Linked DNA regions of Homo sapiens: all the other regions are linked to region 1. The links are contacts of gene promoters, found by promoter capture Hi-C in human tissues and cell types (Jung and others, 2019). All regions are on one chromosome and are shown on one strand. The core of a region is centred on a gene start or on the middle of the fragment in contact, and the rest is flanking DNA. Distances in the headings are between cores, read along the strand shown. Region 1 holds the start of TRIM13 (tripartite motif containing 13). Region 2 has its middle 100 kb from the start of DLEU7-AS1. Region 3 overlaps LOC107984568 (a long non-coding RNA gene). Region 4 has its middle 110 kb from the start of DLEU1-AS1. Region 5 has its middle 70 kb from the start of DLEU1-AS1. Region 6 has its middle 51 kb from the start of DLEU1-AS1. Region 7 has its middle 15 kb from the start of DLEU1-AS1.

Region 1 (4,405 bases), core at 993-3,492:
TTGACCAGGTGAATCATTTACATAGCCCGTCTAAAGACTGGCCCTCCCACCCTAATTTTTTGTTATGCAAATGTAGCTTCTACCTGGGGCCGCCATGACACCTGCACCCGTGGTTTTACCTAGTGATCGCCAAGACGCCCACATAGGGTGACAAGGAAAAGGGAGCGGCCCAGACGCCCACATAGGGTGACAAGGAAAAGGGAGTGAGAAACCCCATATTGAATGTACCTGGCTTCCAGATACAGCAGGCTACATTTACATATAAAAGCTTCTAGCCTGCATATTTTTGCTTGCAGCTTGACTTTTCAGGCTTTCTGTTAGAAAATAAATGGTTTGGGGGCTTTTTTTTTTTTTTTGGTAGAGTCTCGCTCTGTTGCCCAGTCTGGAGTGCAGTGGCGCGATCTTGGCTCACTGCAACCTCTGCGTCCCGGTTCAAGTGGTTCTTCTGCCTCAGCCTCCCGAGTAGCTGGGATTACAGGTGCACGCACCCCCACGCCCAGCTAATTTTTGTATTGTTAGTAAAGATGGGATTTCACCATATTGGTCAGGCTGGTCTTGAACTCCTGACCTCAAGTGATCCACCCACCTCAGCCTCCCAAAGTCACCGGCCAGGAGCTGCTTTTTATTAAAGGAAAATTCCACCGAGAACTCTTTTACCCTTTCTAGCTGCCTAAAAGTAATTTCTCAACTCCTGTGTGATGTGTGAGAATTCCATAAACTACGAAACTATACAAACATAAATAAGGTTTAATTACATATGGCAAACTCTACACATTTAAGGTGTTATTTTGGAGCATCAGTGTATCAAGCAAGAAAAGGTTCTAAACTTGAACTGTGATTTCAAGGCAAGGCAAAACAAATATTACATAAGGTATCAGGTACAAAGCAGTGTCATGAAAATGAGCATATCTGAACAAAAGCTGTGACAGAATTAAGGCCAGATAACCTATCATAAATGTATAGAATGAACAGAACAGCCCGGTTTTAGGAAAGGACTTCCCAGGGAGGTTTAGTAAGCCAGCTGGGAGAAAGGAAAAAAAACGTATTTTTAGGGAGGGATAGGGACGCTCCCATTGTGCAAGAAGGAAGTATAGCCGGTTAACAGCTCCATCAAGTTCTACTAGAAGGAGTGCCTATGTAAATGAAATTCTGCTTTTAAAGTGCCTATTATATAAAGGTCTCTAGAAAACTCAAGCCCTGTTCTACAAGCCCTAGCAGCCTGACAATTCACTAAGCATAGGAGAAGGGAAAAAAAAGTAGGAAAAAAGTGTGGAAGCCCCTTTCTTCCTTTGTAATATGAATGTTTGGCTATATTTAAGATAAATACCACATAAATAATTGCTAAACGTGAATTCTGTTTTTCTAAGTTTTAACAAAATATGCAAAGAACAAAGACCACCAATGAAAGTGGATGGGAACATACGTATTCTACACACAGTTCCATTTTGGAAGGTTCTAGGGCCTATTGAAATTGGGTGTTTAAAAAAAAAAGATAACACAGGAAAATTATTGTAGTTTACCTCTGTCTCCTACAAGCTGATGTATTTGGCAGGGTTACTATTTCCCAGGGCAAAGCAGGTCTTTTTTTTCACGTTTTGACTAACGAACTAGAGGCTACTGCAAAGAAAGAAGAAAAAGAACAGTATTAACGCATTTATTTGCACAGCACCCCAATCTTGACCCTCAATTTTTTCAATCGCCCCCACAAATAAAGCCCGGCTGTTTAGACCTGGTGAACCGCCAGGAGCCTGGAGCTCTTTGTATTAAGCAGCTTCTCGGTTAGGGCGCCCTCCCCCGGCGCCATGCAACCAAACGCTGGCGGCGCGCTGTAACCTAAGGCCCACACCCGTCTTTTCTTTTCTAGGGGATGTGGAGACGCTGGTAGCGGGGCCAGGAAGGCTCCGGACGGAGCAGGTTTTCTGGACCACAGACACACTGCCCCGGCGCCCTCCGCAGGCCGCTCCTCCCCAGGCCCATGACAGTGCCCCGCTGGTTTCTGCCGCGCTGCCGGACTGGAGCTCAGACGGCCTTCGCCAGCCCCCCCAACCCACGCAGATCCCTGCTGACCTGGGCAACTCCCCACCCTCGCTGAAGGTTCGAGGACCACCCCGCTTTCCCGAGAGGAGCCGGGCGGCGGGTACTTATCTCCGACCTCCGGCTAGTGGGAAAGGCCGCGCGACCGCCCGTCCTCCAACTACAGGGACCGCACGGTACGCGCCAAGCACAGCCCCAAAATGGACTCGCGGCTCCGGCTAGCTCCGCCCCCTTCCCTCTCCCGCTTCCCCTTCCCCTCCCGTCCCTTCCCCCTCCCCTCCCGTCCCTTCCCCCTCCCCTCCCGTCCCTTCCCCCCTCCCCCTCCCTTTCCCCTCCCCCTCCCCCTCCCTTTCCCCTCCCCCTCCCCCTCCCTTCCCCGTCGCCCGCCTCCGCCTGCACCTCCGGCCCCGCCTCCCCGTCCCGCTTCGCCTGTGTCCCGCCTCCCCGGCCGCGCCTCGCCTTGGCGGAGGGAGCCGGGTGGTGAGACCGCGTTCCTTCCGGCGTCTCCAACCGCCGCCTGCTCCCGCCGTCCACCCGCGCGGGCCGCCTGGGACGGGGAGGGCCGGGCTGCGGGCTTTTCTCCCTTCCAGAGTCCTGCGCCCGCCCAAAGCCCCCCCGCAGAGGCTGGGCAGCGGCTCCGGGAAGTGGACGCCGTTTGCCCAGACGGTGGGCTCGACTGAAGCGGCGCGGTCCCGGGTGGGGCCGCCCGGGAAGAAAGTCTCCCAGTTAAGCTGCCGTGCAATTAAGATGGTTGGGTTTGGATTGTTGTACTTTTTTTTTTGTTCGTTGCATTTTTAGGAACAAAAAAAAAAGCCCAACCCTTCACACCACTTCATCCGCATCTCAAGACCAGAAGCCGACCCCAGCGGCTTGGGGAAATGGAGCCCCGCACCCCACAAGGGGGAGGGTGGGACGGGCACCTCCGCACTGCGCGGCCTGCGGAGTCACCGATTCGCGTTGGGAGCGCGCCAGGAGCGCCAGGGCTCTAGCCGGGGGCTCCGGGCAAGGCGCAACCAGAAAAGGGTTCAGTATCCCCCATCACCCCCACCCCCAACCGTACCCTCTTTCTTTGCGGGCTTTAGGCAGGACACCAGAGACCCAATTCTATTTAAAATTCTCTTTTAAGAAAAGGAACGCCTGTTTTTGCCTTTGGGGGAAAGGATGAACTTTCAAATTGGCTTTAAATTATCCACCACTAACAGTTACTCAGTCGATAACCTGACTATTCTGACGTCCACCTCCCGTTTGAGGACCTTGCCCAATAGCAAACGTACTAAGCACTTAACCAGTGAACGGTGTGAAGGATGCAAACATGGATGATGAAGGAATGGCTCCTCCAGAATTTACGATCTTGGGAGAAGTGAGGCGAGTATAGAATCTCAGAACACGCTGTAGGATTGAGTTCGATCCCAGTTGAGGAAGTTTGGGTTTGGGGAGGAAATAGGTTATTTTGGAGAAACGGTATTCAAAACCTACCATAAATAGCAGTACAGCCCGTTGACTAATAATGCTTAGCCCAACCCCCGTAAAAAGCCCCTGGCCACATCCGTCTCCTGAGATTCCCACTTCTCTGTGTGCATCTCCCTTCCTGCTATAAGAAACCTAACTTTGCCTTCGTAGAACACTTCTTTTAATTTCTGTCATTCAGTCTCATAACACTGTGTAAAAGAAATTATGATCTTCATCCTATATAGATGAGAAAACAGGTGAAGTGACTTTTCCAAGGTACAAAAGCAAGAGGCAGAGCTGAGGCTAAAGGCAGCTTCCAGATATGGGCTCTTTCTACAGCACCATAACTGTCAGTGACAAAACTGCACCCCAGTACCTTACTAAATTTAGTGTTTTTAGGCCAGGCACGGTGGCTCACGCCTGTAATCCCAGCACTTTGGGAGGTCGAGGCGGGCAGATCACCTGAGGTCAGGAGTTCCAGACCGGACTGACCAACATGGTGAAACCTGGTCTCTACTAAAAATACAAAAATTAGCCGGTCATGGTGCCGTATGCCTGTAGTCCCAGCTACTTGAGAGGCTGAGGCAGGAGAATAGCTTGAACCCGGGAGATGGAGGTTGCAGTGAGCCGAGATCCTACCACTGCACTCCAGCCTGGGCAACAGAGCAAGACTCCGTCTCAATAACTAAATTAATTAATTAATTTAGTGTTTCTAAAAAAACAAAGTGATCTGTAGAAACATCTCATTTATTTGTTGTCATTGTGTGTTGATTGATTTTGAGACAGGGTCTATCTCTGTCCCCCAGGCTGGAGTGCAGTAGCATGATCATGGCTCACTACAGCCTCAAGCCCCTGGGCCCAAGTTATCCTCCTCCCTTAGCCTCCCAAGTAGCTGGGACCACAGACATGCGCCACCACGCCT
Region 2 (4,405 bases), core at 717-3,216, 710 kb before region 1:
ATTGCTTGAGCCCAGGACATCGAAGCTGCAGTGAGCCATGATCATGCCATTGCACCCCAGCGTGGATAACAGAGTGAGACCCTATGTCAAAAAAAAAAAAAGGAAGGAAGGAAGAAAGGAAGGAAGAAAGAAAGAGAAAGAAAGAAAGAGAGAAAGAAAGAAAGAAAAGAAAGAAAGAAAGAAAGAAAGAAAAAGAAAATACCCTGAGGTAGCATGGCTCCAAACACCCTAGGGCCACGTCTGGGAGAGTCGGCCTAGGCAGGGTAGATTCTTGCGTGTTTGAAGACAGCTGTTGAGAAGCTGTGAACCAAGCCCAAGGACCCAAACAGACAGGGAGCTGAATCTCATACCAGAACAACCACCACATTTATATGAGAAAAGTTAAATATGGTTATTCTGAATGAAATTTGCAGGTACTTAAAAAAATTATAGCACCAACCTTGCACAGAACATATGGGAAGCTATTCGAGGTAAAGAACCAGTTTTCTCTAACATGAACATGATCTTTTGCTGCACTATCTGGTGCTACTTTGATCTAAAGAGAAGAGCCACAAAGAAGGTAGCTGTACCAGGAATGGGGACTATGGTATGTGAACAGCTGTAATTGTAAAGCTGCCAGCTTCAGTCCAATGGAGAGAGTAATAGTGAATTTCCACTGATGTGTCAGGCTTTATTCTAAGCATTTTACATATAGCAACCAGTTAAATATTTATAACAACCTTATGGTAGAGGTATTATCATCATCCATTTTGTACAAATAAGGAAACTGAGGCACAGAATACTTTAGATTATTTTGCATCCCAATAGCCCACTCCAGAGCCTGGACTCTTAAGACTTCTTTCTGTTCTGCTATTCTCTTTTAATAACAACCCCAATAGAAGAAGGATTGGGCCGGGCATGGTGGCTCATGCCTGTAATCCCAGCACTTTGGGAGGCCAAGGCGGGCGGATTACCTGAAGTCAGGAGTTCAAGACCAGCCTGGCCAACATGGTGAAGCCCCATCTCTACTAAAAATACCAAAAATTAGCCAGGCGTAGTGGCGGGCACCTATAATCCCAGATACTCGGGAGGCTGAGACAGGAGAATCGCTGAGCCCGGGAGGCTGTGATTGCAGTGAGCCGAGATTGTGCCATTGCACTCCAGCCTGGGCAACAAGAGTGAAACTCCGTCTCAAAAAATAATAACAATAAAATAAATAAATAAATAATAAAAAAAGAAGAAGAATTGATTTGGATTCCTTAGTATTGGATGTGTACATGATGCATGGTAGTTGTATTTTTCTCTGTCGTGTGTGTGTGTTTGTGTGTGTGTGTGTGTTGTATCTGCGTTTCTTAGGCAAATTATTAAGCAAAAGACTCAGTTTAGTCTGAAGCTAGCTGATCAGACACATAACCGAATATCAGGAGGCTTAATCAGTGGCACCACTTGCTACTAACTGGCTTTATAGTTAGATCTCAAGTGCTCATTTCCTCATCTATGTAAGAGGGGGTTGGACCAATCACCTTCTCATTTTCAAGATGGGTAAAACTACAGCTGTGTCACCTTCCAATAGGACTGAAAGTTTGGGAAGTGAGGCAATTACCTCCCCTGCCCCTAGTACTATCACCAATCAGCTGCCATAAAGCCAAATCTTAACTGAGGGTGAATTCTTTGGTGGTTTAAGTGAGTTTGAGAGTTAGACTAGACACTCTGACCTCTCTCCATAGGAACCTAGGAGAGACCCTGGTTTCTTCCAGGCTGTATGGTGAGTGAGCAACCATTCAGGGTGGCTTCTATTCAATAGAAGGATCTGTTTCAGCAATTTCTAAAAGTTAGCCACTTTCTTCTCTTTAGGATGTGACTTGATTTGACCAAAGTTTCTACAAGGCAGCCCTCTAAGCTGCCATGGGCCTCCTGCAGGTATGGCCTGAGATATAGTCTATGATATAGACCAAGGCAGTCTGTAGAATCTGGAGTTAAGCATCTTATTATCATCTCCTCAGTAATCAATTTTATCAACCCAGAGATTTGACTAAAGAGAGTATGGAATGCTCAGGTGTGGCAGACCAACCTGACTCAAGCACACATTCTTTCTAAAGGGAAACAGAAGAAGTTAGACACATGACCTCAAAGCTCAGAAAGTGAGCACTTCTTACATCTATTGCTGTAGAGAGCTGCACAAGAGGCATCATCAGCGCTTAAGTAATTTAAGGTTCATTCTGTAGGACACATTTCTAGAAAAGGAATCTGGGTAAAAGAGTACTAAAATGTCTAAGCTTTTGGTTCAAGATGTCTTTTCTAACAATAGCTGTTGACTGAAAAGACTAAGAAAAGGTGGCACGTGGCTCAGCACATGCTTAGCGGCTGGAACAGAAGCTTCAGCTACACACCTAGTTAGTGATGTATGATGTATCTGGCTCTGTCTTTTGCTTCCCTGGCTTCCCTTTTTTTAAAGTCAGGTTTTTCAAGGTATAATTTATATACAGTAAAATTTACCCTTTTTAAGTGTGCAGTTTGATGGATCTTGAAAAACACATACAGTTGTGTAAGCACCACCACAATCAAGACCTAGAGCATTCTCTCTGCACCTTTGTGATCAGTCCTCTCTCTCCATTCTCAGCCCCTGGCAATTACTGTCCCTATAGTTTGCCTTTTGTGGCATGTGATTCATATGAAAGGACAGAGCAGGTGGTCTTTTAAGTCTGGCTTTTTTTCACTTAGCATTATGCATTTGAGTTCATCCGTGTTGTTACATATAGCACAAGTTATTCTCTTTAATTGCTGTCATATTCCATTGTATCAATGTAACAGAGTCTGTTCATTTATTTACTGGGCGGTGGTTATTTGGGTTGTTCGTAATTTTTTGGAGGTTGTGAATAATGCCTCGCAACATGAAGATGTTTTATATCTCTCGGGTAGATACTCCAATGCTTTATGTTTTCATTTCTCTTGGGTAAATATCCAAATGCTCAGTTGTATAAGTGACATTCAACTTTATAAGAAATTGTCAGACTGACTTCTTAAGTGGCACTTAGCATTACCACCAGCAATACCTGAGAGTTCCAATTACTCTGCATCCTTATCAGCTCTTGACCTTGCCGTTTTAAAGTTTCTATTGTTAAAAAGAGGTATGGCAGTATTTCACTGTTTTTAATTTGCATATCCTTAATGACGAATACTGTTGAGTGTCTTTTCATTTGTTCATTTGCCTTCCACATACCTTCTTTGCTGAAATGTCCAAGTCTTTTGGCCATTTTTTATTAGGTTGTTAGTTTACTTTTATTATTATTTGTCAGAGTTCTTTATATATTCTGAAAACAAGTCTTTCATAACATACGTATTTTGTAAATATTTTGTCCCAGTCTGTGGCTTGTCTATTTATTTTTTTTCTTAACAGTATATTTCAAAGAACAGCACTTTTTATTTCAATGAAGTCCTACTTAATTTTTGTGTGTGGCCTAGCTAAGAAAGCAGCACTTATCGATGGTTGCAAAAATCTCTTCCCTATCTTTTCCTCTAGAAATTTCTTATTGTTAGGTTTTACATGTAGGCCTATGTTCCAATTTGAGTTGATTTTGTATTTGAGGCAAGGGATGGGTTGAGAATCATGTTTTTGCATATAGGTATCTGTTTCGCTGACATCTGTTGAAAAAAACTATCCTCCATTGAATTTCCTTTGTTCCTTAGTTGAAAATCAATTATCCTTATATTTGTGGATTTATTTTGGATTCAGTTTAATTTCATTGACTTGTGGTGACTCTTTCACCAACATGCATACTTTTGACACTGTAGCTTTAGAGTTAATTCTTTAGATTAACTTTGTTTTTTCTCCAAATTCTTTTCACTAATCTGTTTACTTTGCTTTTCCATAAAAATTTTAGAATCTGCTTGTTGATTTCTACAACAGATCTTGCTAGGATTTGTATTGAGGCTGCATTGAATCTACAGATCACTTTAGGAAGGATTTACATTTCTGGCCACCTTTTTTTTTTTTTTTTTTTTTTTTCTGACAGGGTCTTGGTCTTGCTCTGTTGCCCAGGCTGGAGTGCAGCAGCACAACTACTGCTCACTGCAGCCTTGATCTCCTGGGTTCAAGCACACCACCCACCTCAGCTTCCCAAGCTGCTGGGACTACAGGCACATGCCATCATGCCTAATTTTTTTTTTGGTAGTGACAGAGTTTCTCCATGTTGCCCAGGCTGGTCTTGAACTCCTGGGCTCAAGCAACCCACCTGCCTTGGCCTCCCAAAGTGCTGGGATTACAGGAGTAAGCCACCACCCAGCCCTGGTCACTTTTTGATCCTAACTTATTTCTTCTACCTTGGCTTATGAAACCAGCCACCAACGTGCCTGTTGTTATTGCACAGCTTGTCCTCATGATTGGATCTGCACTGGATGTTAGCTGTTGGTAAACAATTCATACTGA
Region 3 (4,405 bases), core at 1,057-3,556, 680 kb before region 1:
TTTTTAAGAAGCCCATGGGGAAGCAGACCCATACATAAAATCTAAGCCACAAAATATTGTAGGATCTACTATGTAGGGTGCTTGAGGGTAGGTCCCAGGGGTCTCCAAGAAATGCATGATTGATGGTAACTGGTTTGCGGAGGAAAGGATTGGCATAGGCTCACCTCAGTCTTCCTGTTACCATAACAAAGGCAGACTGCAGTATCTATAGCATCATTCTTCTAGAACTGTAAGTATCTCTGAATTTATGTAATTGGGGAACCACAGCACAGAAATGATGGGTATTTTCCCATAGTCCTATGAAGATTTTGTGGCAAGGCCAAGGCTGGGACAGAAGTATTGGGACTCCTGAAACAGTGCTCCTTCCATCAGCACTAATTCAGTCTCGGTGCTGAGTTGCCTTACAAAGTTAATTAATTCAAACACGTCTGCTTATTTTATCCAAAACAGAACTTGAAATATCCACAGTGGTTCTCAGCTTGAACCTAATTTTGAACAAAGAGAAAGAACTGTTCTGCAAACCCTCTCCATTTTTCTCACAGCACATGATGAGCACTGGGGCTCTTTGCAGAAGTCCCTTATGGTAAAAACAAAACAAAACATAGTGCTCACTCCAATAAACTTGCAGTCAACCCTAGCCCAGAAGCAAAATCCCGTGCAGAGAATACAATCCCTTGTTCCTCACAAATCTAAAAGGGAAAGAGATTTGTGAGTAGAGCTTTCAGCTATGCGAATAGACCATTGTTCATCAGGCATCTCATTGTAAATTCTACTTTAAAACTTGTTTGTTTCCACTGAACCCCTGAATTTTTTACTTGTGTACCTATTTGTAACAAAAAGGAGAATTCCAAAAGCACAAAGGAAATGTAGAGGATGAGAAAGAGAGAGGGAGAGGGGAAGTGAGGTGGGGGGCGGGAATTGAACTGTGGAGTTCAAATGAACCTGTAGCTAGTGACATCTGCACTTATCTAACTCGGGTTTGGCCACACCCTATAAAAATGCACATTGAAGAGTTTAATGAACATTGGTTCCTTGTCAGATTAGCAAACTTTTCACTATCTGACTGTAATGTTTCCAATGCTTACATCTCAGAGGCTCAACGTTGAGGGAGACAGAAATCATAGGAAAAAAGAGCAATTACACAGTGTCTCAGTTGCTCACCCTCTGGGTTCCAAGAACTCAGCTAGAAGCTGAGGCAGATCCATTCATTGTGCTCCCAGATCTCTTCTCCCGGTTTTAGTTGAGCCCATGGCTGTCCAGGTAACTACTTCATTTTCTATCAGCTCTGTAGCTAGATAAAACCAATGACTAGATTCTGACCAATGAGATGTGACCTGCAATGATGTACTCCACTTGTGGGTCTTGCCCTTCAAACAATTGGGCATACATTCTCCAGATCATTTATCCCTTCCCAGTGTCTGTAAAACAGCAAGAACAAGCATTGTCACTTTGGATACAGAAATGGAAGCCATTTGTTGAGGATGTCAGTAGTGCCTCCCCATCAGCTCTGAACCATTCACACCTGAGTGGTAAAGTGAGAAAGAAAAAAGTTTCCAACTTATTTAAGCCACTATACCCTAGGGTCTCTTTGTTATAGCAGCTTACTTCAACCCAAACTAACTACCCCCATGGTGTGGGGTCAGAGTCTGGCCAAAAGATGCATTCATGCTTTTCTAGTGACATAGACTCACCCTTTCTCTTTGTCATTGACAGTGGGAAAAGCAGAGCTAAGCCAACTTTCAATACCACATGTAGTATTCATTTCTAGATGTCTGTCCTAAGGAATGTTGAAATTAGAAAAAAAATCATGGTATTATTTATAAAACTAAAAATTGGACTCAATCAACTTGACTAATAGTGGGATAATAAATTATAATATGGGCTATCTATTTACATTTTATATTATTCCACAGAAGAATTAAAGTGTGCCCATTGGGGGAAAAATCATGTTTCTGGAGAGAGAGAGAGAGTGTGTGTCTGCATGCTCCCCACTGGCTTTATTTAGTTTGCAACCAGATGACTCTTTTATTTAAAAGTCTTTTGGCCTTTGTTGTTTTGATCACAGCCAGGCACCATTATTTAATGGTGTACATTTGAAACCATGACTCTCAGTTCATTGACAATGTCAGTAAGATGACAGATAAAAATAAGAAGGCCCACTGGGGCTATTGCATGAATACTGATAAAAAATGTAGAATCATAATCCCTACAGCTAAATTTCCCCACTAAATCATAATAGATTATAATTTTTTGATTTGCTAGTTTTCTAAGTATTTAAAAACTATCTTTAGTTCCAGACTTTAACCACATGATGTTTAGAGTAATCCACCCTGTTGCTTGTCTACTTCTTGCACTGAATAGATTTCTCCTATTTTTTTGAAAATTTCAAATTTTTAAAAAAACTTTTTATTTTGAAAATTTCAAACCTACCAAGAAGCTGAAATAATATAATGTACCCTTTTCACCTAGTCTTATTAATTGTTAAAATCTTACAAATCTGCTTTATCTCATTCTTTCTATCTTTCTCTGCTGAATCATTTGAAAGTAATTTTCAGGCATCATGTTTAATAAAATGAAAATGATCACAGTATAACATCAATTGAGAAAAAATGGTTATCTATGAAAATGCTAATTATAATCATTTCTGAATGGTAAGACTGGGTGATTTTTCCCCGTGTGTTCCAAAGTTTCTAGAAAAAAAGCTTGAAACTTATATTTCACTGAACCAATAATTCTATTTGGAAGTTTGATTAAAATTTGCTACCATTATATCTGTTGCAATTATTTCCATTTTGTGAACACAGATAGTACTACATATAGTGGCAGAAGTACAATGAATATTATTAAATCACGAGGATGGTAGTATTTTTACACCAACCAAAACATGACAATTTGTATCTCTTCCATCTAACTAAATAGATATTCCCATTGTCTTTCAAACATGCCTCAATAGGCCCTTTGGGGCTCATGGTGGCCCCTCTTGAAATGATTCACCCACCTTCTCTCTAACACCCTCGCTACTTAGTTTTGTGTAAGACCAATATTATCTGCAAGGAAGCTATAATTGATTTTGCTCAAGATGAAGTCATGTGCCACATGCTTTTCCCACAATTATAGGAAAGTCTTTCTCTAAAAAAGTCTGTTCACTTGGTATTTTGGTGCACAGAGAGTTTCTCTAATAAAATGTTTCCTTAATGCTGACTGCATATCAGAATCACCATCTCAAATATGTAGTGGTCTCATCCCAGACCTGCAAAGGCACTGTGTGTGTGTGTGTGTGTGTGTGTGTGTGTGTGTGTGTGTGAGAGAGAGAGAGAGAGAGAGAGAGAGAGAGAGAGAGGGAGTTGTATTTGTTTGTTTTAGAGAGAGACTATTTATTCTTATAAAGCTCCCCACGATGCTGACGTATACACAAGTTTGAGAACCACTATCCTAGACACACACTTGTCTTCTCCTTTCAAGACTGAATATCAGAAAGTATTCAATAAAGATTTGCAAAATGAATGAGTAGATGAATGCCAGTTCTCAGGACATCTGAACCTTTCCTAATCACTAATGTTGACTATGCAGAACTACAAAAGTGTTGCTTAAGTCACCTTAAGTCTAAACCAGTAGTTTTTTACTTCAGTATGCCCAAGAATCACTTTCAGGGCTTTTAAAAAAATACATATCCCTGGGCCCATCTGCAGAGGGTCATATTGAGTAGGTTTAGAGTAGGGACCAGGAATCTGCATTTTTATTAGCACTCTAAATGTCTCCTGCAATGACATTTTTTGAAAAACACCACATTCAAATCATGGGTAGAAGATGCTGTAGCACAGTTTGAAACAAGTCCTACTATCCAATCCAAATAGATCACTGGCATTCATAGATGTGGTCACATTACTAGTTAACATTTCGTCTAAAATTTTATCGAGAGTAAAGAGCCTGGGATGCTGGCTCAATTGATGCTCTGACTGGTACTGTGGAGTTCCAGTGGCCATTTATGCCTCCATCCCTTACTATCTGGTGCCTGTCCCTGGGGCTGTCTTCAAGTCAGGTGACATCAAAAAGAATGGAGGTCAAATCAGGTAGTTCTAGCCAGAACATTTTAGTGAAAAGAAATAATTACAAAATCATTTTTCTTTTATAAGGTATACATGGATTCCTGCCCCATCCCCAAAGTAGAATAAAGATAGGAAAATACTGATGCAATGTGGTGTGAGATTATTATGGGTCAAAATGACTAATGCTGGATCAAAAATCAGAACAGGAAGGAGACAGGAATTTCAAAAATGAGCAACTCCAAAATAATAGGAATGAAAAAAATAAAAGTTAGTGTCACAGGTCAAATGTTTAGATCCCACATTGTCACTCCATTCTGGTTTTCTTTAACACCCCTGCTTGAACATTTTTACAAATTTCT
Region 4 (4,405 bases), core at 916-3,415, 640 kb before region 1:
ATAGGCAATCATCTCCATTGACATCTCTACCACCATCCTCTGGAATCTGCATGGAGGCTCAAAATTCCTGCACCAACAGCCAGTGTTGACTTCCTCTGTTCCTCCTCACTCTCTTCTTGGTTTCCGGGGCAGAGCCAGTTGCCTGGAGTTGCATTTCCTGGGATCTACATTTCTATAATTTTGGCAGGCCTGATATCTGGGACTTTCTACCCAGGAGTTCTGTTGGAAAGTTGGCCTAACACTTTTTTTCATAATGGAATTCAGTGATGTGGACAAGTTCATCCGTAATTAGTCAGCTCAGAGCCTCCTCCTTCCTACCTGGGAAAGCTTAGCTTATAAAGGAAGCTGAGCTCCTTAGAGAAAGGAGGCATTTGAATTTCAGATGAGTATTTTATAGAATGCAAGATAATGCTGTTATTACCCCAGCCCACCCAAGCTTTCCCCTGCAAATACCCATATTCACCCATACCCAGCACCACCACCCTCTGCCACCCTCACCTCACCACACACACACACACACACACACACACACACACACACACACACACACACACGTGGCCTTTGGACTTTGCAGATTTTTTTCCACAAAGGATTCTTAATAATCATTTGAAAAACAAACTTTTCTCAAAAACAACAGTTGTTGCAAGTCTGCAGAGGAAATGGAACAGTTACACACTGTTGGTGGGACTGTAGATTAGTTCAGCTACTATAGAAAGCAGTTTGGAGACTTCTCAAATAACTTAAACAAAACTAATATTCGACGCAGCAATCCCATTAGGATATATATCCAGAAGAAAACAAATTGTTTTACCAAAAAGACACATGCACTTGAATGGTCATTGCAGCACTACTCACAATAGCAAAGTCATGGAGTCAACACCTGAGTTGCCCATCAGTGGTGAATTCGATACAGAAAATGTGGTACATATACACCATGGAATGTTACACAGCAATAAAAAAGAATGAAATCATGCCCTTTGCCACAACATGAGTGCAGCTGGAGGCCATTATCCTATGAAAATTAATGCAGGAACAGAAAACAAATACCACGTGTTCTTACTTATAGCTGGGAGCTAAACATTGGGTACCCACAAGACAGCAACAATAGACACTGGGGACTTCTAGAGGGAGAAGGGAGGGAGATAGGCAAGGGCTGAAAAACCAACTATTGGGTACTATGCTCAGTACCTGGGTGATGAGATGATTCATACTCCAAACCTCAGCATCATGCAATATACCCAGGAAACAAAGCTACCCATGTACCTGCTAAATCTAAAGTAAAAGTTGAAAAAGAAAATAAAGACATTAAAATACCTTCTTCAGAATTAGTTATTCCCCATTTTTCTACTTTGAGTCTATTTATTATGGAAAAAAACATCACTAGGACCATTCTTTTTTTTGGAAGGTATTTGTCATCTGTCATAAATCTGTATGGCTGGCTTTCAATAGGGACATTAATTTTAAAAACATGAATTATCTATTTGATATTCTTCCTATTCACCATTCTCTGCATTTGGAATACAAATTATGATGATTTAGTCATCCGTATTCTTTTTTTTTTTTTACCACAACCAGACAAGTTTGCCTAGAATTTTTTCTCTTCATTGGAAAATATTTTAATTTAGTACAACATAAAAATATTTGTCAAGTTGTATTTCAGAAAATCTTGAGGCAATTTTCTCTTGTTTGTCTCAATTCTGCCTGACATTCATTGTGCCCTTCAAGCAACAAGATAAAAGAACAATAGATTTTTAAAATAAATAAAAAGCTTTTCATTGTTGATGTTGATTTCTGTTGTCTTATAGAAATAGGAGGTCATAGAAGGCATAGTAAGTGGGGAAGTCAAAAGATCTTGGTCAAGTCTGCGTTCTATAATTGACTGTGTGACCTGGACAATTTGGTAAATTGAGCTTCACGTTTCTTGTCTGAAAATTAGATAACTGGTCTAGAATCAGTAACCCTCAAACTGTCTATTATTGTGAAATTTTATTTTAAGAAAAAAAAGATTAAGTATTGGAGGAAAGGAATCTCCAAATTTAAGGCAGATAAAACCAGAACTGCCCTGTAAGAGGTAAAAAGAAGCCTATTCAACTGCCTTTTTTCATTCTGTGGTGGCCTCTGCTTTCTCTGAGGAGACCTGTTGTTTGAAATGCAGCCAGGAGACCACTGGCCTAGAAGATATCCATGTTTCTTTCAGCTTCAAAGGTTGAGATTCCACTCGAACTGAGCTAACAGAGCTTAGATATGTGTTTACCTGTGAAATAGAATCTGACCTCAAGAAGCTCCTCCACCCAGCTAATAGGTGGTTTGGAAAGAAAAGAAATCACATAGGTTAAGAAGGAAGGTATTAAAAAAATAAGTTCTAATTTCAAGAGAAAAAATAATTTTAGATAAAAGAATATAGGATCAGGAAAAGAAGGTGTGATTTGAGGACAAGGGAGGTAGAGAACATTTTAAAAAGTAAGCACAAAGCTAGCAGCCATTATTAATAAATTGTAAAGGCAAGTCATCCTATATTTTTTTCTGCCACAAATGACACCATGGATGACTGACGCTACAGGTTCTAACTATGTTCATAAGGTCAGGGCTGCCTGAACTCCAAGACAGCAATAAACAGACCAAGAAAAGCTTCCAGGAAAGTTGAGGGCAGGAAAGATACACTTTCTTCTTCTTGTCTGCCCTTCTCCCACCCAGCCCCTATCAAACTCGACGCAAGATTCCAAATTCAAGATGTTTCCAAATGACAGGAAAAAGGAGATCTTCTGAATCAATTTGAAAATGAAAGATAATTTAAATTATTCAGAAATGCTTTCAAGTTATTCCAGAAATATGTTAGAGCACTATGTGATGAAGCAGTCCTGATAGCCCACTGCGTATGTCTCCTAACTGAGGGATATTAAGTGCTATGTCATAAAGGACTGAAAGCTGCACCTCAAACATGATGCAGCTTCCTGTTGTGCCCATTTTTGTGATGGCAAGTTATTTAAAAAGCAATTTTTTATCTTTATATAATATGCATATTATTATGGAGCAGAATGCAGTATTTACTTTTTTTAAAATATTCAATTGTGAGACTTTAATGATATCTAGCACACATGACAGGTTCTCACCACTGTGTGCCCTCATTCACTCTCTTCCCCATTAGGCATATGTCTTTTGATGGCACAACATCAATGATACCCTACCCCTTCAAGGGATCTGGTATGTCTGTTATAGAAAGCAAACCTCTCTAATGTAAAACAGTTTGAGGGCAATCAGGGCAACATCATATACACAAAGAGAAATAATCAATTGGATCTTTGCATCTATCACATGTTCAACATGTGTTCTCAAAATAGGAAGAATTTTCCAGCATGTAATCATCCTTTTGGGCATTATCAGACTTTTAGATATCACAGGAGTAACTTAGCATTTCTACATGTAAAGATTTTTATCCATTAATTTCTCATAATTCTATAAAGCAAAATAAAAAATTTATAAAAAGCAATCCCAAAGCATAGAAAATAAAATGGAGCCTCTGAGCTTAAATCTAAATGTTGTCACTTGGAATAATTCTTTTCTTTGTGGTCAAGCCTACCTTGGTTGCCAACTTGACTCAAAATAAAAGAACTATTTCAAGTGATTTTAAAATTCAGTAACTGGTATGTTCTTGCCACTGCACTCCAGCTTGGATGACAGTGAGCCTCTGTCTCTGAAAAAAAAAAAAAAAATCGGTAATTGGGATATATCCTACAGTCAAAACAACTACAAAAAAAAAAAAAGAAAAGAAAATCTTAAACTGTTTTCAGAAATCATAGTGTTGGTAGTAGTTTTGGTATTGTTATTCTAAAACTGTTTCAGAGACATGGTAAGATAGAAAAAATGGGTGGGTAATTATATGATATTCTAATTCCATCAATCCCACTGTCATAGAAAACTTAGATACTTAGCACAGAGAAAGGAGATATAGATGGAAGATAAAAAAAATAAGACTCTACAGAACTAAATTTGCACTGGAAGTCTCAATATGAACTCTCAATATATTTCATGCTAAAAAAAATCCCAAGAAACAATGAACAACCTAGTAACAATGAATGCTCCCAGTTTCTAGACTGTGGCCCACATACCATTTTTCAGTAAAAGAAACCAAGATTCTCAAGAGAAATATGATTCTAGATCTGAAATACACAAGATGAATCAAATGATTCAAAAGCCAACTCAAATAGGCTCCCACTGGCCAAAGATGTGACATTTATGCATTCAAAAGAACAAAGACGGCCGGGCGCAGTGGCTCACGCCTGTAATCCCAGCACTTTGGGAGGCCGAGGTGGGTGGATCACGAGGTCAGGAGATCGAGATCATCCTGGCTAACACAGTGAAACCCCGTCTCTACTAAAAATACAAAAAAATTAGCCTGGCGTGGTGG
Region 5 (4,405 bases), core at 746-3,245, 600 kb before region 1:
GTGTTGGTTGCTGGGTAGATTCAGGTTAGTCAAATAAAGGGAGGAAATAAAGCATAGAAGTGAATTCGTCCACCGTACACCCCAACAGGGCAAAGCCACGAAGTTACCACCTGTCGACAACATACTTTCTGCTCCCACCCACCTGCATGTAAATGCCTGAAATGTGCAGTCACCTTAGTGGAAATGTAAAGGCCAGGCTGAGCCAAATGATAGGACACTTGCTTTAAGAGAGCATTCCACATGGTGCCATTGATAATTTTTCTGTTAATTTGGTCACTGATGCCATTAACAGACACTGTCTGAGGACCTACTTGATGTAGGCAACATAGTAGGTGTTTCAGAAGACACAAGGATGAGTCGTCCAAGAGCTATGCCTTGAAGGAATGCCCAACATAAGGCTTAAGGCAAGGCATGAACACAAATACAATAACCTAAAATATGTTATTTTTGGTTAGTAAGTATGTAATAATAATAGCTGTCATATATCAGCCCCTCCCCCTGTGCCATGCAGCTCAGGAGCATTATTGCTGATCATTAACAGCCACCTTGCCAAGCACATCACACATGTTTCATCAAGCGTGTCACACGTTTTGCAGACAGGGAGGCTTAAGGTCAGAGAGATTAACTTACTTGCTCAAGGTCACATGGTTAGTGTGTGACAGAGCCAGGCTCTGAACTCTAAAGCATGGGCTCTTAACACACAACACAGTGACTCTGACCCATTTTTTCTCTGTGAGATGGTCGGAACAGGTGCCCATATCATGGCAGCTCAGAGCAAGGAGAGAGAGCCTCAAGCTAGAGGAACTGAGAAAGGCTTTGTGCTCTTGAGCTGAGTCTTGAAAGATTAATAGGCTTTAGATGTGAGGAGATGAGAGAGAGAGATGGGGTGGGATGGAGAGACCTGGGAGGAAAAGGAAGCATGGAAAAAAGATATCCATGGGGAAAGCCTGTGTGGGTAGAGAGGAATGATCACAAGGTACAGGAGGTGGAATGATTCGGAAGCTGCAGGGGCAGAAGGGCAAGGGATGGGAGCCTGGAACAGCGGACCAGGATTTGAGAATACATTTTTTAAAAGCAATTGAAAGTTTCTGAGAAGGGGAATGACCCAGTCAAAGCCCACATTGAGAATGGTGGTGGGCAGATGGAAGGCGGAGAGAGGGGGAGCAGGGATGAAGGCACTGCATCTCCTGGGGTGAAGACAGCCAGTGGCAGTGGGACTTGTAAGAAGGGGACAGCTGTGAAGGTATTGAAGGAAGTAGAATCCACCAGATCAACAGCCAACGTGAGAGGTAAAGAGAAGGGACAGAGGCCAAGGATCTTTTTGTGCCTGTCTAACAGGGAGGATAACTACTAAAGTAGCCTCTAAATACATTTAAGAAATTAGTAAATTAATTAATAAATTACTAAATTAGCCTCTAAATTGGCTCTTTTTAATCACTGGCAGCGTTGTTTCTCAGAATGTTTTGACCTGTGGGCAATTTAAGTGGACCCAAGACCCTATTTAATCTCTATACTCTTGCTTATTACAAAAAAAAAAAAAAAAAAAAAGAATGAAGCTGTATTTATGAGACAATGAAATACATAAAATTCTAAAAGTAACTCGTGTCAAAAGCAAAAGACTAGGCACTGGGAAAGCATTAAAAACACGTACAATATGGCAGCTCAGGACCACCTGGAGAAACCTAGAATCACTAGTGGGCCCACGCTCCCATTGGAGAGGCCCCAATATTTACTCTGAGGCGAGTTGAGGTTGGTGGCAGTTAACACAAATTGAGTGCCACCATGTGCCACGTTTCGTTCTAAATGCAAATTCCTTTCCTGACCTATGTCCCCATCACCTACATCAGCTCCCCAGCCTCCTCTCTGAAGCCTCCCTACCCCACCTCATCCCAGAGGATCTTGCATGTAAGGCAAAGTGTTCTTTCCCACTTTATTTAAGCCAAGAGAGACACAGGCCCACACCAATCAGTGACCTCCCTGCTATTAGCTCTTGCCTGTGTTCCTCTGTGCATTGGTGAAGGAAGAAGCCCTGGGTCCCTATCTTATGATGTCCCAGCCTTTCCTTTGCCTGCACCAGCTCACAGTGGAGCCAAGCAGGGCTGTAAGTCTAGCAGACCCCTCACTGGAGTTGAGTAATTTGCAACCTTGCCCTGATTTAATCTGCAATCCAATTTGCTACTTACTCTCCCCAAGCTCTTATCAACGGTTTACATTTCCATGTGCCTTTTCTGTGCTGTATATCTGTGTTTTCAATTATGTCAGCCCAGGTGAATTAGCCTTCCATTGTTCAAGGTCAAACCTCAAGTTGTTATTTCCTGCCTATACAGCTAGTCCCTTTCCCCTCTATCCCTCTGGGGCAGTTTCTCAATTGTCGCTGGTGTTCCCAGATCCTATCTCCATCAGGTTTCATCTGTGAATTTAATTATGAAGCTATGCCCTATTTGGCTTATTTCACTCCATGGTCCAAACGTTTATTATGCATCCATTCTCCACAGGCACCCTGGTTCCACAGATATGCTAGGCATGCCCTCCGCAGCCATATGAAAATGAAAAGTTAGGAGTCCCAAAAAGGAACTAAATGCGCCTAATTTTGTTCATATTGTTGAGTCCCTTCACCTGACCAGCAAACCCTTTGATCCTGCACTTAGGCGCTTCCATGGCCACAGAGGGCTCTTCTAGCACAGGGATTGTACAGTTGTTAAAGCAAAAAGAAGGCAGAAAAGGCTAATCCAGAGCAACTCTTGAAAGCAGCCCCAAGGAGTCTTCCAGAAAAGCCTTGGTCTGCCTTCCTCCCAGGGGCTCAGCTCCAGCTGCACTTTACCTCTGCAGGTGGAGGCTCCCAGCAAGGCTCTGCTGAGGGCACTGCTGTGGCTCCCCTGCTCACACTTGGGGTCCTGTGGCTGAGTCTAGCCTTTCTTCCTCCTGCACACTGCCTGCCCCATCGCTTTGACAGAGGGGAGCCCCTCAAGTGCATCTTTGGAGGGGACAAGACACTGCTTGATATCCTGAAACATAAAGAGGCAGCATGCATCACTCAGCCACATAGCCCACATGTCACTTCTATCAGTGAAGCCTTTCAGTTTCCACCCTTGTGCTCCTGGCAAATGTGATGGCCCCGATGGCTCTTTGCTCAGTGTGATGGCCCCAGGCACCCTTTGCTCATCTTATGTTCACTTAAGTGGCTGACTGTCCCACGAGTAGAAGCCGGGAGCAGGAGCCACAGTATCTCAGTGATCTTTGTGTCCTCCACCTCTTACCTAGAACATAAGAGGTCCTCGGTAAGTTTATCAAATGACTCCCTGAACAAATGCACATTAGGGAATGTAAATCTTCTTTTCAGATACTGCTCTTGTCTCATCCACCAGTTGCCTTTAAGCAAGTCATTGGTTTTCAATTTGTGTGTGTGTGTGTGAACAAAAAGCTTCTTCACACCAAGTCTTACTTGGAAGACCCTGGCCCCCCAATATATAACATGATAATAGTGAAGTTCATCTTGTTCACATAAAATGGGGAGGCCGTGGGAGCCTCAGTACCACCCACTTGCCATCCCCTCAGCTAAAATCCTCCACATATATAAGTTCTTTTACTTTTCTCTGACTCAAGCCAAATCTTTCTCCCCTCGTGGCAGCTTCTCTCTGATCATCCCAGCCACGGGGGCCCTGCCCGTTTCTGAACTCCTAGGAGTCCTACTGTGTACTCTTGTAACATATACAGAGTTTGTACCAATGAACACTCACATTCACTAAGTCTTGCTGAAGGCCAAGTCCAGTGACATGCACTTTACATACTTATCTCATTTAATCCTCAGGGCAATCCTAGGAGGTATATACTCTCACTATCTCCACTTTACTCATGAGAAAATAGAGGCTCAGAGAGGTTAAGCAATTTGCCAGGGTCATATAGCTATGAACTAGCAGCACTAGGATTTAAACCCCGAGCTAACCCATTTACTGTTTCTACTTTTGATGTGCCATTATTTGATCTTTTCAAGTATATTGTGAACTGAATTGTAGAAACTGCATCTCTACTTCTTTCTCTTGTTGCCCGATTTTTAATACAATGCCTTTAGCAAGAGTATAATTAATAATTTCAGATTAACAAATTCCCCAAAGTATATTGTATCTTTCCTCACTTCTGCCTCCTCTAACATCTGTCTGGCTAGAGGCTGTCAGCTGCTGCATTGGCTATGGTCTCACTTTCTTTCTTCCCCGAAGAAAATTGTCTTTCTGAAGCCTGCAAAGGAAGTCTCCACTGCTGAAAATATTAAGCACTTTCTCCAAAGGCTGGAAGCTAAGCAGGAGTTTCACAGGAGGGAAAAAACAACAGTGACCCCCTCAAATGGAGAGGGGAGGCTCAAGACAGGAAATCGAAGGTAAGGTCAGAGCAGCTCCAGGGAGCAGGGAGA
Region 6 (4,405 bases), core at 915-3,414, 580 kb before region 1:
CACTGTTATTACTTACAAGGCCATGGATCTTCAGAGCCTATTTATATGGAAATATTCTAGATCTTCTGGCCCCTGCATTTATTTGATGCTGATGATACCATAACCAGGAGGCTGCACCATCCATGTGAATACTGGCTTCCAATGTCTCTTTCCAAGATTGCTACTGTGCTTGGTTCATGGATGATGACAACAAATGTAAATCTTACCCAGAGTATGTATGCAAATGTAGACAACAATTTGTTTTCTGGTCATGTTAAATTTACTGTTCAGAACCTTATAGGGTAAATGTAGAACAACACATCTTCCAGCCATATCTTCTGCATTCTTTAGGCTGTAATCCCTGCATTCCTGCAATGTGATCTCTTTCAGTGCCGGCTGTATGGATGCTTTCCACACATGACACCAACAGGGAGGTTAGGAGGGTCCTATGGTCAGAGTGATAAGAGTGGTCCCACTCACGCACGGATCATCCTTCCCTCACCCTCGGCAGCTTAAAACTGACCTGAGAGAGCCTGATGTCACTACATCGGGTGGACCCTACAAGAGAGGGCATGGATTGATAGGGTCACTTGTAATTTAGGAGTGATTGTCTTGAAAGCCCTTGAGGGAGACAGGCACAGCCTTGCTCAGGTCTAAGAATGGTACTGGTCGGGGGGCAAGTTGGCCCTCTCTCCTGTCTGTAACGCAGCCTTCTGTGCTTGTGGGGAGGAGCGATGGGCACATATCCACCTCTGTAGAGTTAACAGCTCTTTCCCTCTCATTAAATTGCAAATCTGCCAAGCAAATCTACCATGTTCTGAGTCTTCAGAAACACAATCTCGGGGCTACACAAAATTTGAGTTTGGTTTTTCAAATGAACGCAAATTGTTGCAAATAACAGAAGTGAGCATTTAGAAAGCAAGAGATACTGATGGCTAAAGATTGGCTCTGTGGATTTATAAATGCTTTTTGAGAAAACATCGAGTTAAACTCAGACCACATATGGAAGGTCAAATTTCACGCTCTCACCTGATTTTAACAACTTGCCTTCACAACCTTGTTTTCAATGTTGTGGGAGAGAGCAGGGAGGAAAGTCACATTTTTCTTCCGTTTGTCAGTTTTATGTCTTTTTCTTCTTTGTTGACTTATGGTTCTTTGATGTTTATTCTGGAGATTTATCCTTAAATTAGCAAAATCTGGTACCAGCATTGTTGCTTACAGGAAGACAGTACATGGATATGGCCTGAACCTTGAACTACAGTGAAGACTCTTTAGTTATGACCCACAAAGCAGACTCAATGACCATCATTCTTTGGTTTTCCCCAGTGGTATTTTTATAAATCTTCATTATGAGAAAATATGGAGGCTTGTTGACAGGTTCGAGAAAAGAGGAATCTAATTTTGATATAATTCTCTTCCTAAAATATAAATCTGGTATAATTGAGTTGATCAATGCTATAAAATAGACACTATCATCTAGAAATCCAAAATTGTCTTCAGAAAAATACGTATCCTTAGTTTCAACAATTCATCTAGAGAAATTTATAGCCTTTAAAAGACATTAAATTGATCAGAACAATATATCTCTCTGAACACCTCAAACACTCATAAGACATAAAAAACAAAATTTAATACGTGCTGTGTGCCAGACATGGTGTTAGGAGCTAAAAATGTAGAGGAGAAGACAACAGACATGGTCCTTGTCTTCATGAGAGAGGGAGATCAAACAAATAATTATACGAGTGACTGCAGAATTACAATTGTGATGAGTATTGCAAAGAAAAGTCCCAAGGGCTACGGAATTAGAAGAGGAGAGACTAACATTTTCCAGAGGTCAAGAAAGGCCTGCTGGCTGGGGGGGAGTGGTTATTTATAGTCATTTAAGCTGAAATCTGAAAGGACAAGAAAGAAGTAGCTGTAGTCCTCTTGAATAATGGATTTTTATTCCCCAGAAGTCTTCAACACTTATTTTTGTGCTATTTTCTCTTATCCCTTCCAAATTTTCACTCAATTAAGATACCTCTAAGTTGGCACATAGTTGAAGAAGAGGATACAACTCTTAGTGGGGCTCCATTATCAAGATTAATTATGATAAATTATAAATTATCCAGACCCTAATCCTACTTCCTAAATCTAAGCTTGTCCCCATTTCTTGCTCACCAGCATTAAGGAAAAGTAATGGGACTCACAGCTTCTGCCTTACTGTTGGCTCCCACATTGCTCATTAATCACACTAAGCTGTTGAACTGTTTAGACACCTTTCCAGGTGACTTACAACAGCACGTCCCTTACGTCTGTCAGTAATGTTTCAGCTCCACAGTAATTGCAGTGTTCTCTGTAAGACAGTTTGAGAAATAATTTACTCAAGTGTGATTATTGTGTTTGGGTAGAGATCAACAGGGAGTAGAAAAAGAGACTATGTTAAAAATCAATGATGCAGGTCTCAAGTTCCAAAGTTGCTTCTCCTTTGGAACATTTTTAGGAGAAATACATTCCCATATGCCTATTATACATGGCCTTATCCTCTTTGTCTCTTGCTTGTTACTTTTATGAAAACCCAATGGCACTTGATTACTCCACCAGCCATCTTGAATCTCCAAATGCCTTGTTCAGTCAAAGAAAATCATTTTGATACATTCAGCCAAAAATCATTTACTGTATCAGAGACATTTTTCAAGGTCAATTTTGGGATCTCCTGCAAGTTTTCATATGTGCATAGATTATAAAAATTAGATTAGATTTTTATAATCTATGCACATATGATAGGTTAGATCTCTATAATTGATACACATATGACTAATGAAAAAATACTATGAATTAGGCCGGGCACGGTGGCTCATGCCTGTAATCCTAGCACTTTGGGAGGCTGAGGCAGGTGGATCACCTGAGGTAAGGAGTTCGAGACCAACCTGGCCAACATAGCGAAACTCTGTCTCTACTAAAAATACAAAAATTAGCCAGGCATGGTGGCAGGTGCTTGTAATCCCAGCTACTCAGGAGGCTGAGGCAGGAGAATCACTTGAACCCCAGTGGGGCAGAGGTTGCAGTGAGCTGAGATCATGCCACTTCTTCACTCCAGCCTGGGTGACAGAGTGAGACTCCATCTTAAAAAAAAAAAAAAATACTATGAATTAGTCTCTGATGGCCACACTCTAAGTTTGAATAATTTGCAGCAGAGATGCCTTAACTTCCTCCATATCATGAGCTGGTTTTGCCCATTGGGAACACTGCCTGTCCATGTGTCTCCAACATCAACATAGCAGGATTCAAACTCCATTTTTGATTCCTTTTGTTCTACATTTTGTGGGCTCGTGGTCATATCAGTCATGCCCTTCTGAGATCCCACGTCAGATCCTAGCCAGGGAAGGGACTCCTCAGTGTAAGCTATCAGCCTTCACTTCCCAAAGCCTCTCTCCCAGCCCCTGAGGTGATAAAAAGTGACAGTTCTTCCAACAGGCCAGCTACAAGGGTGTCCAAGAATACAGAAAGAATTTCCTTCATCTGTGCCCAGGGTTGTCCATCTCTATCACCCTCCCAGGTGGGACGTTCTCAAGAAGCCTCTTCCATTTTGGCTGCATGTAGTTTATTTTGTCCAGCATTTCAGAGGTGTCTCCTGCCTCTGTCCTCAGCCTGGAGAACAGACTCAGCAGAAATTACACGGTTTTTGTTTTTGTTTTTTTTTTTTTTGTCCTCAGTTGACCTCCAGGGAAACTAGGACAGCGTGAGGCAAAGAAGGCAAGGTCTCTCAATAATGCACCAGTGGTCAAGGCTGGCTTTCAGTGGCGCCTCTCCAAACAGCCAAAATCGGTGTCAAACCACCAGCCTGTGCAGCCTTTCCAAGATGCTCCAGCTGTTTATTCAGCCACTAAGTGTTCTGCCCAAAGTGGACTCCACCCAATGGTGAGCTAAGACAAATCAAACATTCATTCACACAGTCGGGAGTGACATGCCCACCCAGCCCGGCCCTCTGATGCCTGCAGAGTCTAGCTGCAGCTGGCTCCATGCTCACAGGTGCCAGGCACCTGGCCAAGCATGGCAGTGATCTCTGGGGTGGGGCGGGAGGAGATGTTTGCACAGGGCACAAGCACCCCTGCCAGAAGCAACAGTGAAGGCCACTGTTTGTTGTGGAAAGAGGATAGTTTTTGAGCCCCGCTGATCAAGGTTTGGATCCTAGCTCAGTCTCTTTCCACCTGTGCAACCTTGAGAAAGTACCATAACAGCAATGGAACTCAGCTTACCCATCTATGAAGCGAATGTAATGATAACACAACCTCAAGGGGTTGTTGTGAGGGTTAGCTATCACAGAAGTAAATAGCCTGAAAACAGAGTCTGGTTGTAGCAGGGGTCAAATAAATGACAGCTAAGAGAGAAAAGCCCTTTCCAAAGGAGGGACCAGGCTCTGTTCATGCTGCAGCTGATGTGGTAG
Region 7 (4,405 bases), core at 712-3,211, 550 kb before region 1:
CCTTCAAGGACTTCAGTGAAGATATGTGACATTGGAAGGCATATTGCCATGAGAACGCAATACTCAGTGGCACTATTTTACACCAAAGGGATTTTTCATCATAGTTTAACACTTTTTACTACAAATTACATGGTGAAATGCAAACCAATAATCTCCAAGCAGTGTCAGACAATCAGTTCATACATGAGAACCCTATTGGTCTGCTAGGAATAAAACCAACTCTCGCCTTGTTATTGAACAACTTTGCATAAAACCTGAACTGGGAGAATAACCAAAGAAGTAGAGTGAAGGCAAACACTAATGTCTATAAGAAAACTATTATTTTTGTAGCGGGAAAGGCTGCAAAAAGACACCAAAAGTGTGTTTTCATTGCACTTCATCAAGTCATTTAATAAACCTGCCATTCCTAACACACTACTGGCTACTTTGGAATTGTTTTCGCAGTTACTCAGCAGGAAACTAACATTTGAACTTACCAGTCTTTTGAGTTGCAAATTCAATTTTAAACTTTTTATTTACAAAGCCTCAAGAATATCTATCACTCCAGGCAGAGGAACGATAATAACATCAAGTTTTATGAATTATTACTTTCCAATCAAGGGTGACAGACTTGCTTATAAGAACAGGGTGAGACTTTTCATAAGCAGTAGAGTTCCATCCAAGTTCTCCTGATTCTATTTTGCCAAAGAAAGGAAAAGGATATTACATTTTAAAATAAAATTCCTCCAAATAAAATCCTACCAATGCTTAATGTCTGTGAGTTCTTGTGGTGGCTTTATGTTGTAAATGCTAAGGTTTCATATTACTTATATAAGCTTTAGTCTCCAATAGAGCTGGCAAACAAAACCCAAGAATGCTGAAACAGCTGTAGTACTGTATCTGAGTCATTTGGACGAAAACAGGCAGCGGGGCACGACGCCGGAGCAGTGTTCTCTCAGCCCACTACAACTCTTAGCTTTTCATTTCAGCTTCCAGACAAAGAACTAGTGATGGCTGCGAATCTCATGAAAACTCAGTGAGGCATACAAGTTGGATATTAAGGCAGGAACTTGCTAATATTTTTAAAGGGTCACTTCAAAGGAAAATTCCACGTTCTCAGAATTAAATCCAATTCCTTAGAGGCTTTGATTCTATTCTTGCAAAGGGTGAATCTTACAGATATCCAAACAGCCAGTGCCAGTCAAGAAGAGATGTATTTTAAATAAGAAAGCCACACAAGGATGGCTACAAATCCTCTACATTAAACTGCATTAGTTTTCACTTCCATTAATTCAGAGTCAGTTACAGAACTGGCCTGAAGTTTGGTAATCAAATCAAGGATAAAAAGAATTATAATTTAAATAGTTTAAAACAGTTTATTAGTCTTTTAAAAATAGGAGGATTTCTTCAATTATAAATCACTGACATGTTAATTATAAATAATGCTTAAAGAGTGGCACTCTAATTATAAATAAGGCTCATCTGTAGGTCTTCCAAGACCCCCCCCCCGCAAGGCAGCTGTTCTTTGCATACATAGTTCAAGTTACTCAGTGTGTGAGAAGGTGGTAAACTCTAGCTTTAAACACAGTTTATTAAAATGTGTGTCTCACAAATTGAGTTTGCCTCATTTCCATAAGCCTAAAATAGTAAAATGTTTGCTGTAGTCCTTTAGTGCACATTTATTCTCAGAACACCAACTCATCGTGGAACCTTAGGTAAGTTACTTAACCTCTCTGAGCCTAAATGTATTCCTCCAGAGAAATGTTAGTTTCCATTCGATTAATGAGTTAATGTATATAATGCACTTAGTAGAATACATGGAACAAGGTAGGCCCTTAGAAAATGATAGCTATTATTGATAGTAGTTGTAATCATAAAAATGGAATATGATAGATTCAGCTGATGTTTTAAGCCACTAATTTAGAATTTCTCCGATTTTTTGAGCCATAAATCTATAATAATTAAAAACGATTTTGACAAGAGTTCAAGAGGAAATGGGTCCCTTGTTTGCCAAAGGGACTTGGTAAATAAGGGCTGGGTATCAGTGAGGAAAGACATGTGAGTGAGGAGATCCACAAAGACTCAGACTGACCACCGAGATAAAATCACATTTCACCATGTCCCTGGCTGCCTTCTCGTCTACACTCCAAGTCTCCAGAAAATGATGGTCAACGTGCTGATTTTAATATGACAGCTTTGAAAGGCTTGTGCCCCTTCACCTCAATTTTCTGGAAACCTCATTTTTCTTAACTCTCCAAGGCAGCTTTCCAGCCAAGGAATCTATGAGCTAGTTGGGTAGAGCTAGTTAGGTTCTTAATCCAAAAGAATGTCAGGTTTCAGTGTCAAAAAGGAAGGGAATCTGAAGCCATTCTCACATGCATCGCTGTCTTTCATACGGGAAAGAAGGCTTTGGTGGTGGGTGCTATGAGTGTGTGTCTCTACTCAAAGGATTAGTGAGGGTCTTTTCCCCTTAAGTAATTAGAGAACAGACCTTTTTTATTAAAACATATCTCCTAGAAAGATATGTTTGGATATCTTTATTGAGCTCCTTCTACATGCCAGTTATTGCTCTACATTCTACTGAGGAAAGAGGAGTGATAAGATGTGGTTTTTGTCCTCCACTTACAAATGCAGGTACCATGTGCAGGACCTGTTGCTATTTGCAGCTCCAAGTCTTAGACCTATGGTTCTGCCCCTAACCTTCACCTAGAAAGAGATATCACAACCCAACATAGATCTCTGTTTTATGTTTTTCCTTGCTTAGGAGGAGCTGTATGATACAAATTTCCTTTGCAATAAAGATATTCATCTGACAGGCAGAGGTTTTATTTCTTAAAAGTGAGTTCAAACAAGCCTCCAGAGATCGGTCAAAAAGAAAGTTTACTTCTTCTCAATTATGGTATATATTTTAAAAGGGATTTTTCAAAATATAATTTTCCTTTCCTAAAAGTTCTTCCTCAGCTCTGCCACTTATCTGCTGTGAGAGATCCTGGCCAATTTGCTTACCCTCTTGTGCCTCAGTTCCTGCATCTGTAACATGGGAAAACAATAGCCCCTGCCTATAGGGCTGTTGTGGAGGCATAAATGACAAAAGACAGAAGTCTCTTGGAACAGTGCTTGGCATGCAGTAAGCATCCAATAAAGGTCAGTCATCATTATGATTGTTAATTTTCTTTTTCTTTCTTTTTTTTTTTTTTAAGACAGAGTTTTCCTCTGTCGCCCAGGCTAGAGCGGAGTGGCACGATCTTGGTTCACTGCAACCTCCGCCTCACGGGTTCAAGCGATTCTCCTGCCTCAGCCTCTCAAGTAGCTGGGATTACAGGCGCCCACCACCACACCCAGCTAATTTTTGTAATTTTAGTGAAGACGGGGTTTCACCATCTTGGCCATGCTGGTCTCGAACTCCTGACCTTGTGATCCACCCACCTTGGCCTCCCAAAGTGCTGTGATTACAGGCATGAGCCACCGTACCTGGCCATCATTGTTATTTTTCAATTACATTAATATTGGTTGTAGTATTCTCCTGCTAGGTTGTTAGGCAGACACTGTGATAGAGGGTCACAGAAGAGTGAAGCGGTTCTATATGTATTATAGTATCTCCTTAGTAGGCCACAGTGCCATTAAACCCTTAACCATGCTATGTAGCTTAGAAAATAAAACCACTAAGTAAGAGTATAAAAACTTTATTTTAGCCCCAGTTCTTCTATGCATTTGCTATGTCATTTTGGATAAGCCAATTGCTAGGATCACCAGACAAAAATACAGAATGCTCAGCTAAATGTAAATTTCATATAAGTAATATATTTTTAGTACAGTATAAGTATGCCTTATGCAAATGATAAAAAGTTATTCATTATTTACATGAAATTCAAATTTTGCTAGAAGACTTGCATTGTAATTTGTTAAATCTGGCAGTCCTGAGCTTCAATCTCTTTATAGATAAAATAATGATACTGAATTAGGTCAGTGTTTTCCTAACCCTACAGAACATTTTCTAGGAGACATGTTTTAATAAAAAGAATTCATTCTCCAATTAATTAGGGAAATGCAACAAGTTGTTGCCCCCTTTTAGAAATTTAGAGTATAAAGTAGTATATTGAATGTTACAAAAACCCCAGCAGTAAATAAACCTGCTTGACTTTGTTTAAGCCACATTCACTCAAAGTATTTCTTCTGTCCCTTTGCATTTATAAACATCTCTAGAACACCTTTTGGGAAATGAAAGACTAGATGATACCTAAGGATGTTTCCAATTCTAAAAGTTTAGGATTCTAAGGATCCAAGATTGAATTATGCAGTCTTAAAGTACCCCCCAAGAAACAAAATGTAAGCATTAATAATCTACTTAGTACAAGGTGTCATCCATACAGACAAAATTTCTGAGTAGAATTCAATACCTGGTCTTGACTAGAGCAGGTGGTGCTAC

What was found. Contacts are between HindIII fragments. The study calls those that stand out against the background at their distance.
Region 2: a fragment that was not itself captured here is called in contact with the fragment with the promoter of TRIM13 in region 1 in 1 of the 25 tissues and cell types used here (spleen).
Region 3: a contact is called between a fragment that was not itself captured here and the fragment with the promoter of TRIM13 in region 1, in 1 of the 25 tissues and cell types used here (hippocampus).
Region 4: a fragment that was not itself captured here is called in contact with the fragment with the promoter of TRIM13 in region 1 in 1 of the 25 tissues and cell types used here (dorsolateral prefrontal cortex).
Region 5: a contact is called between a fragment that was not itself captured here and the fragment with the promoter of TRIM13 in region 1, in 1 of the 25 tissues and cell types used here (lymphoblastoid cells).
Region 6: a fragment that was not itself captured here is called in contact with the fragment with the promoter of TRIM13 in region 1 in 1 of the 25 tissues and cell types used here (lymphoblastoid cells).
Region 7: a contact is called between a fragment that was not itself captured here and the fragment with the promoter of TRIM13 in region 1, in 2 of the 25 tissues and cell types used here (dorsolateral prefrontal cortex and spleen).

The regions. Positions count from the first base shown.
Region 1 is chr13:49,994,879-49,999,283 of GRCh38, reverse strand. TRIM13 (tripartite motif containing 13) reads right to left here and starts at 2,242. Exons shown (of 2, transcript NM_213590.3): 1 at 1,521-2,242. It overlaps DLEU2 (deleted in lymphocytic leukemia 2), which reads left to right. Exons shown (of 14, transcript NR_152566.1): 11 at 1,865-2,210. It overlaps MIR3613 (microRNA 3613), which reads left to right and starts at 2,783; the gene lies at 2,783-2,869. RefSeq lists silencers at 2,506-2,635, 3,226-3,275 and an enhancer at 2,816-2,945. The HindIII fragment of the contact is 11,924 bases long and covers 1-4,405 here.
Region 2 is chr13:50,701,950-50,706,354 of GRCh38, reverse strand. No RefSeq gene overlaps it. Among named protein-coding and RNA genes, the nearest start is that of DLEU7-AS1, 100 kb to the left of the region's middle. The HindIII fragment of the contact is 3,946 bases long and covers 1-3,939 here.
Region 3 is chr13:50,679,402-50,683,806 of GRCh38, reverse strand. LOC107984568 (a long non-coding RNA gene) reads left to right here. Exons shown (of 3, transcript XR_001750074.2): 3 at 1-86. Among named protein-coding and RNA genes, the nearest start is that of DLEU7-AS1, 130 kb to the left of the region's middle. The HindIII fragment of the contact is 3,495 bases long and covers 559-4,053 here.
Region 4 is chr13:50,637,755-50,642,159 of GRCh38, reverse strand. No RefSeq gene overlaps it. Among named protein-coding and RNA genes, the nearest start is that of DLEU1-AS1, 110 kb to the right of the region's middle. The HindIII fragment of the contact is 3,566 bases long and covers 383-3,948 here.
Region 5 is chr13:50,594,814-50,599,218 of GRCh38, reverse strand. No RefSeq gene overlaps it. Among named protein-coding and RNA genes, the nearest start is that of DLEU1-AS1, 70 kb to the right of the region's middle. RefSeq lists an enhancer at 4,243-4,405. The HindIII fragment of the contact is 5,382 bases long and covers 1-4,405 here.
Region 6 is chr13:50,575,847-50,580,251 of GRCh38, reverse strand. No RefSeq gene overlaps it. Among named protein-coding and RNA genes, the nearest start is that of DLEU1-AS1, 51 kb to the right of the region's middle. The HindIII fragment of the contact is 3,612 bases long and covers 359-3,970 here.
Region 7 is chr13:50,540,432-50,544,836 of GRCh38, reverse strand. No RefSeq gene overlaps it. Among named protein-coding and RNA genes, the nearest start is that of DLEU1-AS1, 15 kb to the right of the region's middle. The HindIII fragment of the contact is 6,360 bases long and covers 1-4,405 here.